Linked DNA regions of Homo sapiens: region 2 is linked to region 1. The links are contacts of gene promoters, found by promoter capture Hi-C in blood cells and fetal thymus (Javierre and others, 2016). All regions are on one chromosome and are shown on one strand. Each heading gives the region's core, a stretch centred on a gene start or on the middle of the fragment in contact. The rest is flanking DNA. Distances are from core to core; before and after follow the strand shown. Region 1 holds the start of MYLK2 (myosin light chain kinase 2). Region 2 overlaps DNMT3B (DNA methyltransferase 3 beta).

Region 1 (7,062 bases), core at 3,196-5,695:
CTCACCATGTTGCGCAGGCTGGTCGTGAACTCCTGGGCTCAAGTGATCCTCCAGCCTCGGCCTCTTAACATGCTAGGATTACAGGCATGGTTGATTTTTATAGTCTTTTTTCACCTAAAATGTAATATGCAGTGATTCTATAGCTCTCCCCCAATTTCATCTCTGTGTCCTGAAAGTGACCAGTTTAGTCCTTGTCACAGTAGAGCCCCCAGTAATTAATCTTAGCAATAAAATTCTATAACTGTGGGATGGAACAGTGTGTCAATTGCGTTTTCGGAGAAACCTATGTCCAATTTGCACACAGAACGCCCACAGACCTCTGCTTACTAGCTTGGCTGGAAGGACAGGGTCTGCTGTAAGGACAGCAACCTTACCTAGGGCTTTTCCAGAGGCCTGAGAGGTCCTGCCAAGGCCCTGGGCTCAGGGGTCCAAGGTGGGAGAGGGCGAGAGAAAACAACGTGCTAATGCAGCCTTGAGTGGCTCTCAAACAGGAGCAGAGGGAAGGCTGTGAGGGGAGTTGGCTGCTCTCTTTGGAGTCAGAAAGGTTGTTGCTCAACTCTTTGGATTTTCCATCACAGCTGGGCAGGGAGAGGGTCAGACTGGGCATGACTTCTCCGAACAGGTCCTTTTAAAGCCTCTTGGCTGAACTGATTTCCTCTCCAGAGCCAAGGAAGCAGTGCCTGGGTGAAGTTAACCCCTTCACCCCCAACACATTCTTCCAGAGCTAGGTGAGCCTGGAAGCCTAGGCTCCTGGAAGGCAGAGCTACACAGGGCAAGAGGCCTAAGGAGCCGTGAACTCTGGCTGGAGAAACCTTCCCTCTGGCCTTGTTAAATCCAACAGGCATAATTGCATCCTGCTGACCTTAATTCCCCTGGCGGGTTTAATTGGTCTTGGCATTGCCCCACTTCCTGTCCTGCCCCTGTAGAGGCAAAGAGGGTGTCTGCACAGCTGGTGCAGGGCGGGGAAGCCCCTTCTTGAGGGTGGGCAGGGGCTCTGGCAGCCCCTAGGTGGGTGGAGGAAGTTTCCCCGTGCCCCACCCCTGTGCCTCCAAGGGAGTGCTGAGAAGCTTGGGGACTCCCAGGGAGCAGCTGGCTGGAGCAGGCAGTCCCGTAGATTCGGAACCAGGCCAGACTCTCATCCCAGTGGGAGGCACTGCAGGGGAGCTGGCGGGAACAGATGAACCCTCTACCTGGGGTGTCCACGACATTATCAGGCCCCCACAGTGCTGTAGGTACTGTGCCATTGGGCACTCTTTACATGTGTGCTGGCTAAATGCTCGCAGCCATGCTGTGAGAGGGAGGCAATGGGGCAGAGCAGTTATGAGCAGAGCCTTGGGTTAGATGGGTCCAATCCCAACTCTATGACTTTGCCCTGTGACTCAGTTTTCCTGTCACATCTGTGAAATGGGGATTAAAGAGCTGACATTTATACAGCACTCGCTATGCTCACACTCACTGTTGTAATGCTTTATCTACCTCCTGGGAGGCAGATGCTCTCCTTACGGATGAGGAAACAGGTGAAGACATTGTTCCAAGCTCACAGTTACTGGTCGCAGCGCTTCATTGACAGATCTCCTAATCACTGCATGGTAGGGAGTTGTAAGACTCGAAGGAAGGATACTCATGAAGCTGCTTACCCCAGGGCCTGGTCCATTTTAGAAAGAGTTCAATAAGAGTAATTATTTGGGAATAATAATTATAACAAAAGTAGCACTAATGCCCCTGAAGTTGTCCCAGGCTGGATTTTGGTCTCATTGGGAGGTGGCTCTGGATTTGAATGTGGGTAGTTTGAAGCCATTCACTAGCTGAGTGACTGTGGGGACAAGCCACTTCCCTCTGTGAGCATCAGTTTCCACACCTTTAAAATGGTGTAACATTGGCCCCTACAGTCCCTTCTGAGGATCCAGGGAGCTGGATCTTTGGCATAGTCTGGCCTGGCCGTTGGTGGGCACTCAATAAATGACTGGTATTGATAACCACAATAATAACAAGGAGATGCCAGCAAGGTCCAGCATAGGGAGGTAACAAACTCCAGTCTGGAGCCTTCTGGTTAATCAGTTATTTACTCATCAGACACTGATGGGCAAGTCCACTCTGTGCTGGGGATGTGTTTAGCCCCTGGCCTTCAGGGGGCTCCCAGACAGTGTCAACCAATGGTGGGATCAGCTGGGGCACTGTGGGGAGGCCAGAAGCAGGGGACCCAACATTCCAAATTAAACTAAAACATGCTCTGGGCCAGATAGAGGGCCAGGAGGTCCTAATGATCCGCATTAGGACAGGAAACATTTCAACCTTTTGAATGCTGCAAGATCCACAAAGGGGTTACTCAGCAGGGAGAAGGGGGCAAGGCACAGGCTGGGACATTTTAGGAAGGGAAGAGGGCTTTGGAGTTTGAAGAACGACATTCCAAGCTCAACTCCCTTCCTTGCTGAGTGACTTTGGGCAAGCTACTGATTCCTTTAACTCTCCTCGTCCTCATGCAGAAAATGAGATGAGCGCTCCCCACAGAGTTATCATCAAGATGATGCTTAAAGGCAAGATGGCTAAAACGAATGACAGGTGCTCAGCAAGTGGAAGCTCCCTTTCTGCAGGGGACCTGGGTTCAGAGCTCAGTTCAGCCCCTTCCAAGCTGTGACTTTGAGTAAATTACATAACCTCTCCATGCCTTGGTTTCCCCATCTCTCTAGTACCTACCGCACTGGGTTCTTCTGAAGACCATTTGGGTGGATCAACATGAGAGCATGCAGAGCGAGGCCAGGCACGTGGTCAGTACCGTATAGGCATCAGCTGTTACTTTTGCTTCCTGGAAGAGGCAGACTGTTAACTGGACCTTAAAGAAGAGAAATGGAGGAGAGGAGGACCGGGCCTGGAGAGGAGGGCCAGGCAGAGCAAAAGTAGTCAAGACTGGGGAAAGAGCTCCAACTATGGTTTTTACCAGCTTATACCAAAAACCCTTGACATTTGCTCACAAAACAAAACATCCCACTCATTTTGAATAGTAGCCTGTTCACATAGTTCATGGTTCAAACAGAAAAGTCAAAGTATATACAGTGATGTCTCCTTCCCACCCTTGGGGCCCAGTTCCTTGCTTATCCTACCAAATAAATTCTTATGTGCATAAAGTGAAATATATATTATTCATATATTATTCTCCCTTTTTTTTTTGCACAAATGGATAGCACACTCTACATGCTACTTTGCATCTTGCTTTTTTTATTCCCCCCACTTTGGTGGTCACTTTTTGTCAGTTCATTAACAGCTTCCTCAATCTTTTTTTACAGGTTCCTATTTCCCCACTGCTTAGAGGGGCTGCATTCTCCCTCCTTTCTCTCATCAAGCGTTTTTCCAATGGCTTCCCATTTGACAGAGGAGCCGAGGCCATGGAGTGAAGTGACTGGTTTGCTGCAGTCAGGACCTGAACCTGGATAACCACTCTACAGCTACTTCATTTTATCTTACTTTTTAAAATATAAAGACGGGGTCTTGTTATGTTGCCCAGGCCAGTCTCCAACTCCTGGCCTCGAGTGATCCTCCTGCCTCAGCTTCCCAAAGTGTTGGGATTACAGGTGTGAACCACTGCTTCTGGCCTCTACAGCTACTTCTAATGCACCCAGGTCTGGCCAGTTCTCAAGAGCCCCCTCTGAGAAAGGCTCTGGGTGATGGAAGGCTCCTTGGATCATAGCTGTCCTCATCCTATCTCGAACACCTCAGGCTAGAGTGCCCCTCGGGCCACCCCTGTAGTGGAGCATCCTTGAAAAGACTCTCTGCCAGCCCCCTTCTTCCATGTGGGTCATGGGTGAGAACTGGATGAGCTTGGGGGAGGGGCACAGAGCACTCTCCATCTCCCATGGCTACTCAGGGCAGCCTCCGTGTCCCCAGGAGCCCAAGAAAAGGACAGTTTCAAAAGAAAAAGCTTCCAGGCCTATGGACATGTTGAGAAAGTGCCCCCGAGACAATTTCTTACCCAAAGGTGACGCAAGCAGGTCCAGATGTCGAGGCACAGAGCTAGGCACTAGGGTCAGGGAGATTATCCCTGGGACTTTGTGGCTCTAGCCAGGTTCTGGGGAGCCCCAGGAGATGTGGCACACAGGTGGGCAGACCAGGGCTCAGCCTGGGCATACTCTTGCCCTTCAGGCCTGCCTGAGTACTCCCCTTCTTCCAGGCCCCCTCTGATCCTGTCCAAGTCAGGGATACTGAGCAAGGCCTGGGGAAAGGGCTGCTCCCCCAGCGTCCCAGATACCCCTCCCTTTTCTCGCTTGTTCCAACATCATTCTCCCCCCAGTCGGGCCATGGGAAGAATGCCGTGTCCTCTGAACTGGGGCCAAGAGTGACAGGTGGCGGCAGTCCCAGCTGCATGGCCCCTGGTGTAAGAGATCCTCTCCTCCGTCCCCGCCTCCACTGCCCACACCCCTGCCTCCGCCTCTGCCCACCCGGCCCAATCCCTTACAACTGCCCAGGACTGCTCCTGAGCAGCCGCTGGGAGACAGACGGCAACCAGGTTGCCCCTCTTTGCTCCAGGTACCTCTCTCCCCTCAGTTAGCAGGCCTCGGCTTCCTGTCTCACTGCAGCCAGACGAGAGGGGAAATTGGACAGCCTGACACACTCCACTCTTGTTTCTGCAGCTAGAAAGACTTGAGTTAGACAAGCAGCAGCACACGCCTCCCTACCTCATGGCGACAGAAAATGGAGCAGTTGAGCTGGGAATTCAGAACCCATCAACAGGTGCCAAGCTGGGGCAGGAGATGGAGGGAGGAGCTTGGGAAGGGGGGTTTTGAATCCAGGACTGGGCAGGTTCCTCAGTGGGAGTTCTGTGCCCCAGCCTTGTTTGCATGGTGCACGGGGGACCCAGAAATCAGAGGAATCTCTGGCTAGGGTTGGGCTGGGTCCAGGGCCTGTATGAAGCCCTTCCTGGAGAGACCAGGAAAATGTGAAGCCACCAGGGATGGCTGCTGGGGATGCACCTAAACAGTCAGGGCAAGGATGATGGGGGCCACCAAGGCCCACCCAAAGGGCTGGAAGCCTCCCACAGAGGCCCTCCAAGGTCGTGGCAGCTCATCTCTAGGGGCCATCAAGTGGCCCCAGAGACTCAGTGGGACAAGCATTTGCAAGTTGTTGCCTGGGTGGGAACCTGGGCCCAGAGCTGGTCTCTGCCCAGCCTGGGTGAGAGGGAAGGAAAGGAGGGTGGATCCTGATGGGTGTCTCACCTCCTCTGCAGACAAGGCACCTAAAGGTCCCACAGGTGAAAGACCCCTGGCTGCAGGGAAAGACCCTGGCCCCCCAGACCCAAAGAAAGCTCCGGATCCACCCACCCTGAAGAAAGATGCCAAAGCCCCTGCCTCAGAGAAAGGGGATGGTACCCTGGCCCAACCCTCAACTAGCAGCCAAGGCCCCAAAGGAGAGGGTGACAGGGGCGGGGGGCCCGCGGAGGGCAGTGCTGGGCCCCCGGCAGCCCTGCCCCAGCAGACTGCGACACCTGAGACCAGCGTCAAGAAGCCCAAGGCTGAGCAGGGAGCCTCAGGCAGCCAGGATCCTGGAAAGCCCAGGGTGGGCAAGAAGGCAGCAGAGGGCCAAGCAGCAGCCAGGAGGGGCTCACCTGCCTTTCTGCATAGCCCCAGCTGTCCTGCCATCATCTCCAGGTGAATATCCCCTCCTGGGAGTGGGGAGGGGTCCTGTGGTTCTGTCCCTAGGGGTCCTGCTTAATTCCCTTGTCTTAGGCATGGTTATCATCACATTCAGTGCTGGGGAGTGTAGTTCTGACATTCAGTTTCCTCTGTCCTGTGAATTGCCTCTACCGCCTTGTCCCCTGCAGAAACCAGAACCCTGCCACAATTCATACAAGACTGGAGTAAGAGAGACCCTCAAAGACTGCCTAGGTTGAACATATCTTCTCTAGGCTTCTGGGGTCCGAAGTTCCCCTTACTCCATGGGCTTGGGTCTAGCCAAGGGCAGGGTTGAGATGGCAGGCAGAAAGGCTAAAGGTGTCAGGCAAAAGGCTGTGTATTTCCTAGGACATCCAGTATTTTCCTGTTCTTCTTAATATAATTATTGGTAAGATATGAAAAGATGACTAATAACCAGATTGGAGGATCATTGATAATATTTTCATAACCATAATATAGCACATGTGTGATGCCATCAGTTATACTTACCTGAATGCTAATGAGGTCATTAATGATATATTGTAAGCCACAATAAGAACATTTACCATATCACTTTGATAATTATGTATCAATTATATCACAACAGATTTTATGAATCAAGAGCTACATAACTCCCTAGTTGTATCCACATGATGATTAACCATATCAACAATCCTATTAATAGTTATTAATGATGTATTAGTGTGTTGGTAGTCAAGATAATGACCACAGCCATGAACATCCCTTAATTTTGTACCAGGTGAATTTGGCTGTATTACACCATGCATTTGGGGTGGGGTTGGATTAGCTCTGCAGATTGCATTGAGACTTGCCTGATGCCACAGGCTGTGGCCGCTGAGGGCTTCACCTCTGTGTTCTCACCTTCTAGTTCTGAGAAGCTGCTGGCCAAGAAGCCCCCAAGCGAGGCATCAGAGCTCACCTTTGAAGGGGTGCCCATGACCCACAGCCCCACGGATCCCAGGCCAGCCAAGGCAGAAGAAGGAAAGAACATCCTGGCAGAGAGCCAGAAGGAAGTGGGAGAGAAAACCCCAGGCCAGGCTGGCCAGGCTAAGATGCAAGGGGACACCTCGAGGGGGATTGAGTTCCAGGCTGTTCCCTCAGAGAAATCCGAGGTGGGGCAGGCCCTCTGTCTCACAGCCAGGGAGGAGGACTGCTTCCAGATTTTGGGTAGGCCAGGGGCAGGTGGGGGCTGGGGCTGCCCTGGGGCCAGGGGGAGGGAAGGGGGCTGTCAGTCCCAAGTCTACCTATTCGGAGGTCTGAACTGCCCTGAGCCAAGCCTTACCCAGGCCCATTCATCTAAGGGTCACACAACTCCAGAAAGTATTCCTTTTTTAACGTATGTTTATTCATTTGTTTATTTGTTTTAAAAGATAGGGTCTTGCTACGTTGCCCAGGCTGGCTT
Region 2 (6,817 bases), core at 2,378-4,877, 970 kb after region 1:
GACTTTGTCTTTGGCTTTCATCACGTGGGCTGCCTGAGGCCCATAAAAACTGGCATCTGCAAATGTATGGAGGGTTGCCGAGCTAGATGCTTTCTGCATATATTTGGCATTATTTTTTCAATCTGGACGATCAGTTACATTGCTAAATCTCTAATATGGTAGTCCCCTCTTATCTGTCATTTTGCTTTCCACGATTTCAGTTGCTTGCAGTCAACTGCCGTCTGAAAGTATTAAATGGAAAATATTAAATGGTAAATCCCAGAAATAAACAATTTATACATTTTAAATTGAGTGCCATTCTGGTAGCATGATGGAATCTTGCACTGTCCTGCTCCGTCCTGCCCAGGATCAGTCCTGTCTTTGTCCAACATCTCTATGCTTAGGTGCTACCTGCCTGTTAGTCACTTGTAGCCGTCTCCGTGATCAGATCAGTTGCAGTATCACAGTGGTTGTGTTCAAGTAGTGCTTGTTTTACTTAATAACGGCTCCAAAGTGCAGGAGTGATGACGCTGGCAATTCAGTTATGCCAAAGAGAAGCCATGAAGTGTTTCCTTTAAGTGAAAAAGTGAAAGTTCTCAAAAAGGAAAGAAGAAATCATATGCTGAAGTTGTTAGATCTGTGGTAAGAACAAATCTTCCAGCCGTGAAATCATGAAGAAGGAAAAATAAATGCATGCTAGTTTTACTGTTGCACCTCAAACTGCAAAAGTTATGGCCATGTTGTGTGATAAGTGTGTAGTTAAGATGGGAAAGGCATTAAATTTGTAGGTGGAAGACATGAACAGAAATATGTTCTGATTGACAGCAGTGCTTTGTGCCAGGGAGCATTGAGCCTATAGCAAGGGATCCCCTGACACCAAACCATTTACTTCAAGTAAGGGATGGTTACATAGATTCAAGAATAGGTTTCTACTGAAAACTATAAAAATGACTGGAGAGGCTGCATTTGCCAATGAAAAACCTGCTGCTACATTTTCAGAAGAGTTGAAGTTGATTGAGAAAGGAAACAATCCAAAACTAAGACTGCAGTGAAACCAGACTCCTCCAGAAGATGATGTCTAATAGAACCTACCTTCATAAAAGTGCAAAGGAGGAAGACACTAGGTCATAAACCATGGAAGGACAGATTAACCCTGAATAGAGTACAAGAAGATATTTTGAGAGAGAAACCACATTCATATGGCTTTTATTAACAGTATATTGTAATTGCTCTATTTTATTATTAGTTGTTAATCTGTGCCTAATTTATAAATTAAACTTTATCATAGGTATGTAGATATAGACAAAAACAGAGCACATATAGGGTTCCATCTTCCAAGGTGTCAGGCAGCCATGGGGGGTCTTGCATGTATCCCCCCTGGATAAGGGGAGACTACTGTATAGCAAACTGTCTTTTTATTCCTGGAATGAGTCCAACTTGGTTATGGTGCATTTTGAAGTTGATTTTATTCATGTATTCATGAATGAAATGGGTATTTTTTTTTATTCATTTATTTTTGAGATGAAGTCTGTTGCCCAGGCTGGAGTGCAATGGCATGATCTCTGCTCACTGCAACTTACTGCCTCCCAGGCCCAAGCGATTCCCCTGCCTCAGGCTCCCGAGTAGCTGGGACTACAGGCAATGGACCACCATACCCAGCCAATTTTTTTGTATTTTTAGTAGAGATGGGGTTTCACCATGTTGGCCAGGCTGGTCTCGAACTCCTGGCCTCAAGTGAGCCACCTGTCCCGGCCTCCCAAAGTGCTGGGATTACAAGTGTGAGCCACCATACCTGGCCCATTTTATTTCTTTAAATATATCTATGGTTTTGATGTTAGGATTAGGTGGGCTCAAGGAATTTTTTTTACAAGCTGGAAGAAACTTGTCTAAGCTTATTTTAATGAATTTCAAACAATTATATCTTCTAAGACTTGCTACATTATCAAGCTTTCTACTTCATTTACTTTTCCAAGGTTGGATCTTTCCCATCTTGTTTTGTGTTCCTTCCTTTACTGACACCGTCTGTTTCCTAATTATTCTTAGTAGAGTTTGTCAATTGGGTTGGTTTTGCTCAGAGCCAGTATCAGTCATAAAAGTCCTGGGCAATGAAAACTCACCCTCAGCTTCCATTCTCTTGGTGGTGGCCAACCTACTTAGGGGACTCAGAAGGTGGGGAACCTAAGCCCTGGGAGGAATTAGGGCAGCTGCAGGATCAGAGGCTCAGCACTGCTGTTTTGTTTCTGGTAGCTAGTTACCAGAAACAGTAATGAAATCTCTTGCCCACACGTTTCTTTTTGTTTGTTTGTTTTGTTTTGAGACAGAGTCTCCAGTCTGTCGCCCAGGCTGGAGTGCAATGGCACGATCTCGGCTCACTGCAACCTCCGCCTCCCAGGTTCAAGTAATTTTCCTGCCTCAGCCTCCCAAGTAGCTGGGCTTACAGGCGTGCACCACCATGCCCAGCTAACTTTTGTATTTGTATTTGTATTTTTTTTTTTTTTTGAGATGGAGTCTTACTCTTGTTCCCCAAGCTAGAGTGCGGTGGCGCGATCTCGGCTCGCTGTAACCTCCACCTCCCAGGTTTAAGCGGTACTCCTGCCTCAGCCTCCTGAGTATGAGTAGCTGGAATTACAGGCACATGCCACCATGCCCTGCTAATTTTTGTATTTTTAGTAGAGACAGGGTTTCGCCATATTGGCCAGGCTGGTCTTGAACTCCTGACCTCAGGTGATCCACCCGCGTCGGCCTCCCAAAGTGTTGGGATTACACGCCTGGCCTAATTTTTGTATTCTTAGTAGAGATGGGGTTTCACCATCTTGGCCAGGCTGGTCTGGTGACCTCAGGTGACCTCAGTCTGCCCCAGACTCCCAAAGTGTTGGGATTACAGGTATGAGCCACCACACCCTGCATATTATTTGATTCTTGATGTAACCCTGTTGTGCTATGAGGGAAGTACTGTTATTCCAATTTTAAAATGAGGGAAATGGACTCAAAGCCACACAGTTGGTGAGTGAAGGCAAGTGCTTAACACTCCAGCCAGACCTAGCTGCTCGCTGCTTCAGCTTTTGTGTTTGGCTTATGCTGGGTTTTGGTGTGAGGTGTGAGGCCTGCACGAGGAAGCCCTGATGACATGGTGCAGGTTTCATGCCATTGCTTCCGGGGCATCTGTCGTGGTTGGTCTGTGTCTGCACCCATATGCAGTGTGTTGTGATGAGTGACCCGGTCTCCCTGCCAGGCACAGGCGATCAGTCTTTCATATTGCAGGTGCCTTGTTTCTTTGACTTGCTGATACCCTGGGGTCTTCATCATGTTCATCATGTTTCCTTATAAAGGACTTGACAGGCGATGGCGACGGGGAAGATGGGGATGGCTCTGACACCCCAGTCATGCCAAAGCTCTTCCGGGAAACCAGGACTCGTTCAGAAAGCCCAGCTGTAAGTAGCCACACCTCGAGCCAAAGCACTTGTGGCCAACACTCTACATAGCATACATAGCATGCTACATACATAGCATAGCTCCTTAGGGGAGCTTTTAAGAGAAAGTGATGAAAAAATGTTTTGAAACTAGAAAATATAAGCAAGGCTCTTGGACTATTGTTGGAGGGTTTTCTTTTTTCTTTTTTTTTTTCTGAGACGGAGTCTCACTGTGTTGCCCAGGCTGGCGTGCAATGGCGTGATCTTAGCTCACTGCAACAACCTCTGCCTCCTTGGTCCAAGTGATTCTCCTGCCACAGCCTCCCAAGTAGCTGGGACTACACGCACCTACCACCACACCCGGCCAGTTTTTGTATTTTCAGTAGAGATGAAGTTTTACCATGTTGGCCAGGCTGGTCTCGAACTCTTGACCTCAGGTGATCCACCCACCTTGGCCTCCTAAAGTGCTGGGATTTCAGGTGTGAGCCACTGCGCCCGGCTGGAAGGTTTTCTCTATGTGCCATTTCTTTCAGGTGGTTTTTAAGTTCTTTCTTGTAACACTCTTGGAGGTGCCTAGGGGTGATAGAGTTTGCAGGGTGGATGGCTCAGCTGCTAATGACCTAGGGAGTCCACCATTTCTGTGGGTGGATTTTGTGCCTCAGAGTTTTGAGGTATGGCAATGGGAAGGCAGTTATTGCTTATGGTCACCCAGCCCTTTAGAGACCAGACTGACAGTTACTATCCCAGGTGTGGGTTACAGTCTTCCCTTCCCAGGATATGGTCTGTATCATCCCCTTTGTGGAGATGAGAGAAGATTCCAGCAACTTAACTGAGGTTAAACATCAACTCTTCTATGCATAATTTGGACACAGGTTCTGCAACAACCAAATTCATGCCATTTTTGACAATGAACATGGAGCCTAAGGAATTCTATTCCATCTTGATGATCTGGTGCCTTCCTGAACCCAGTAATTGGCCTTATGCTTCTTTGACATAAAAGTTTATTTTAGAGTGAACACGAATTTTTCTTTCTTTCTTTCTTTCTTTTTTTTTCTTTTTTTTTGAGATGCAGTCTCACTGTGTTGCCCAGGCTGGAGTGCAGTGACGTGATCTCAGCACACTGCAACCTCTGCCTCCCTGGTCCAAGTGATTCTCCTGCCTCAGCCTCCTGAGTAGCTGTGACTACAGGCACCCACCACCATGCCTGGCTAATTTTTGCATTTTTAGTAGAGATGGGGTTTCACCATTTTATCCAGGATGATCCTGAATTTCTGATTGCAAGTGATCTGCCCGCCTTGGCCTCCCAAAGTGCTGGGATCACAGGCATGAGCGAGCCACTGCGCTTGGCCAGATTTTTATTTTTCAATCCCAATTGGCAGGTGCCATTTCAGCTGGCCATGTCTGTCTGCTGTGACAGGCAGAGCAGGACCTGCTGGGAATTGTCGGGCATCCTAGCTGGCCACCCTACCACCTCTATTCCAAGAACTGGGGAATTCTGGCTGGACTCAGTCCAGAGTCCCACCTCATCACCTGTTCACTTCCAGTTGTCCTGAAGCTGGCTACCAGGTCTCCTTGGCCACCTGAAGGCCTAATCCTTCTGGCCCCGCCAGACCCCAGGCCTCCAGTCACCTAAGGCCCAGTGAGTGTCCTCTCTTGCTTCTAGGTCCGAACTCGAAATAACAACAGTGTCTCCAGCCGGGAGAGGCACAGGCCTTCCCCACGTTCCACCCGAGGCCGGCAGGGCCGCAACCATGTGGACGAGTCCCCCGTGGAGTTCCCGGCTACCAGGGTTGGTTCCCCAGATGCCCAGACCCCTGCCCGCAGTCTCTAACTGGGAGATATGCCTCACTCACTGCACTACTGGTTGTGGCTGGTAGATAATCTGTGTCCTTTTTTCACACTGCTTTTCAGGTTCTTGCTTTTTCTTTTCTCTCCTGGGTAAGCTTCCCGTAAGCCTGTTGGCTTCTCTCCTGGTCTGATCTCAGATGACACTCTGTTGGGAATGGAAGCTTTCCCTGTTGACTTGGTTCTTGCTCTAACTTGGAAACAAGGTAGAAAACACTGACATCCAGAACTGTCTTCTCCCTCATGTCTTCTTCACCTGTCTTGAGGCAACCCTAGCGGGTATGGCAACATTTCACTCTCTGAGAGTCCCTCGTCATTACCCATCATTTGTGCCTTTGTCATCTTTCTGTCTCTGGGACAGTTACAATGACTTTCTCCCCCCTTAAGGGATACGTGTTCCTGGAAAAGTTTCTTCAGCGGTCTCTGTTCTCTTTAACTTCAGTCTTTCCTCTTTCTTTTTGCCTAGGAGCCATATGGGGGTGCCGTTGGTCTCTGGTCACCGACATCCTTTGCTCTGGCCCAAACTATGTGTCCTTCTGTCCACAGTCCCTGAGACGGCGGGCAACAGCATCGGCAGGAACGCCATGGCCGTCCCCTCCCAGCTCTTACCTTACCATCGACCTCACAGACGACACAGAGGACACACATGGGACGCCCCAGAGCAGCAGTACCCCCTACGCCCGCCTAGCCCAGGACAGCCAGCAGGGGGGCATGGAGTCCCCGCAGGTGGAGGCAGACAGTGGAGATGGAGACAGTTCAGAGTATCAGGTATGGCCGAGAGGGGCTCCTGCCCAGGGTGACTGAGGACCCTGAACACGGGGAAAAACCAGTTACCTGCTACTGTTGGTAACAGAGCGACAACAGTTGTTAGAAGTTTCGTAATTGTAATAATTGACATGTTTGAATTCTAAGTATCTTCCATATGCACCACGGACCTTTCTTTACCTTAATCCTCTCCCAGACATAAGTCAAATGCCAGTATTTACCACGTGAATACTGTGGTTTTTCCCAACATGACATTTATGTAAGGACTGCAACTGCGTACGTTATACATTTCATGTACGCCCGTGTGAAGAGACCACCAAACAGGCTTTGTGTGAGCAATAAAGCTGTTTATTTCACCTGAGTGCAGGTGGGCTGAGTCCAAAAGAGAGTCAGCGAAGGGAGATAGGGGTGGGGCCATTTTCTAAGATTTGGGTAGGTAAAGGAAAATTACAGTCAAAGGGGGTTTGTTCTCTGGCGGGCAGGAGTGGGGGTCTCAAGGTGCTCAGTGGGGGAGTTTTTTGAGCCACGAGGAGCCAGGAAAAGGGATTTCACAAGGTAATGTCATCACTTAAGGCAAGGACCGGCCATTTATACTTCTTTTATGGTGGAATGTCATCAGTTAAGGTGGGGCAGGGCATATTCACTTCTTTTGTGATTCTTCAGTTACTTCAGGCCATCTGGGCTTAAACGTGCAAGTCACAGGGGATGCGTGCAAGTCACAGGGGATGCGATGGCTTGGCTTGGGCTCAGAGGCCTGACAATACATATTGTGATTCTGTTCATCAGAGTGCACATACTGTATATATTGTACGTATGAT

Evidence for each region. The method cuts DNA at HindIII sites, captures the fragments that hold promoters and counts their contacts. A CHiCAGO score of 5 or more calls a contact.
Region 2: a contact is called between a fragment that was not itself captured here and the fragment with the promoter of MYLK2 in region 1, in 1 of 17 cell types (neutrophils). The highest score is 5.9, in neutrophils.

What each region holds. Positions count from the first base shown.
Region 1 is chr20:31,814,911-31,821,972 of GRCh38, forward strand. MYLK2 (myosin light chain kinase 2) reads left to right here and starts at 4,446. Exons shown (of 13, transcript NM_033118.4): 1 at 4,446-4,518; 2 at 4,623-4,722; 3 at 5,216-5,636; 4 at 6,529-6,827. The coding sequence starts at 4,671. RefSeq lists enhancers at 774-1,576, 4,930-5,471. The HindIII fragment of the contact is 6,141 bases long and covers 3,912-7,062 here.
Region 2 is chr20:32,781,450-32,788,266 of GRCh38, forward strand. It overlaps DNMT3B (DNA methyltransferase 3 beta), which reads left to right. Exons shown (of 23, transcript NM_006892.4): 4 at 3,309-3,410; 5 at 5,053-5,178; 6 at 5,781-6,002. Among named protein-coding and RNA genes, the nearest start is that of DNMT3B, 22 kb to the left of the region's middle. RefSeq lists enhancers at 1-618, 5,524-6,195, 6,196-6,817. The HindIII fragment of the contact is 3,406 bases long and covers 1,925-5,330 here.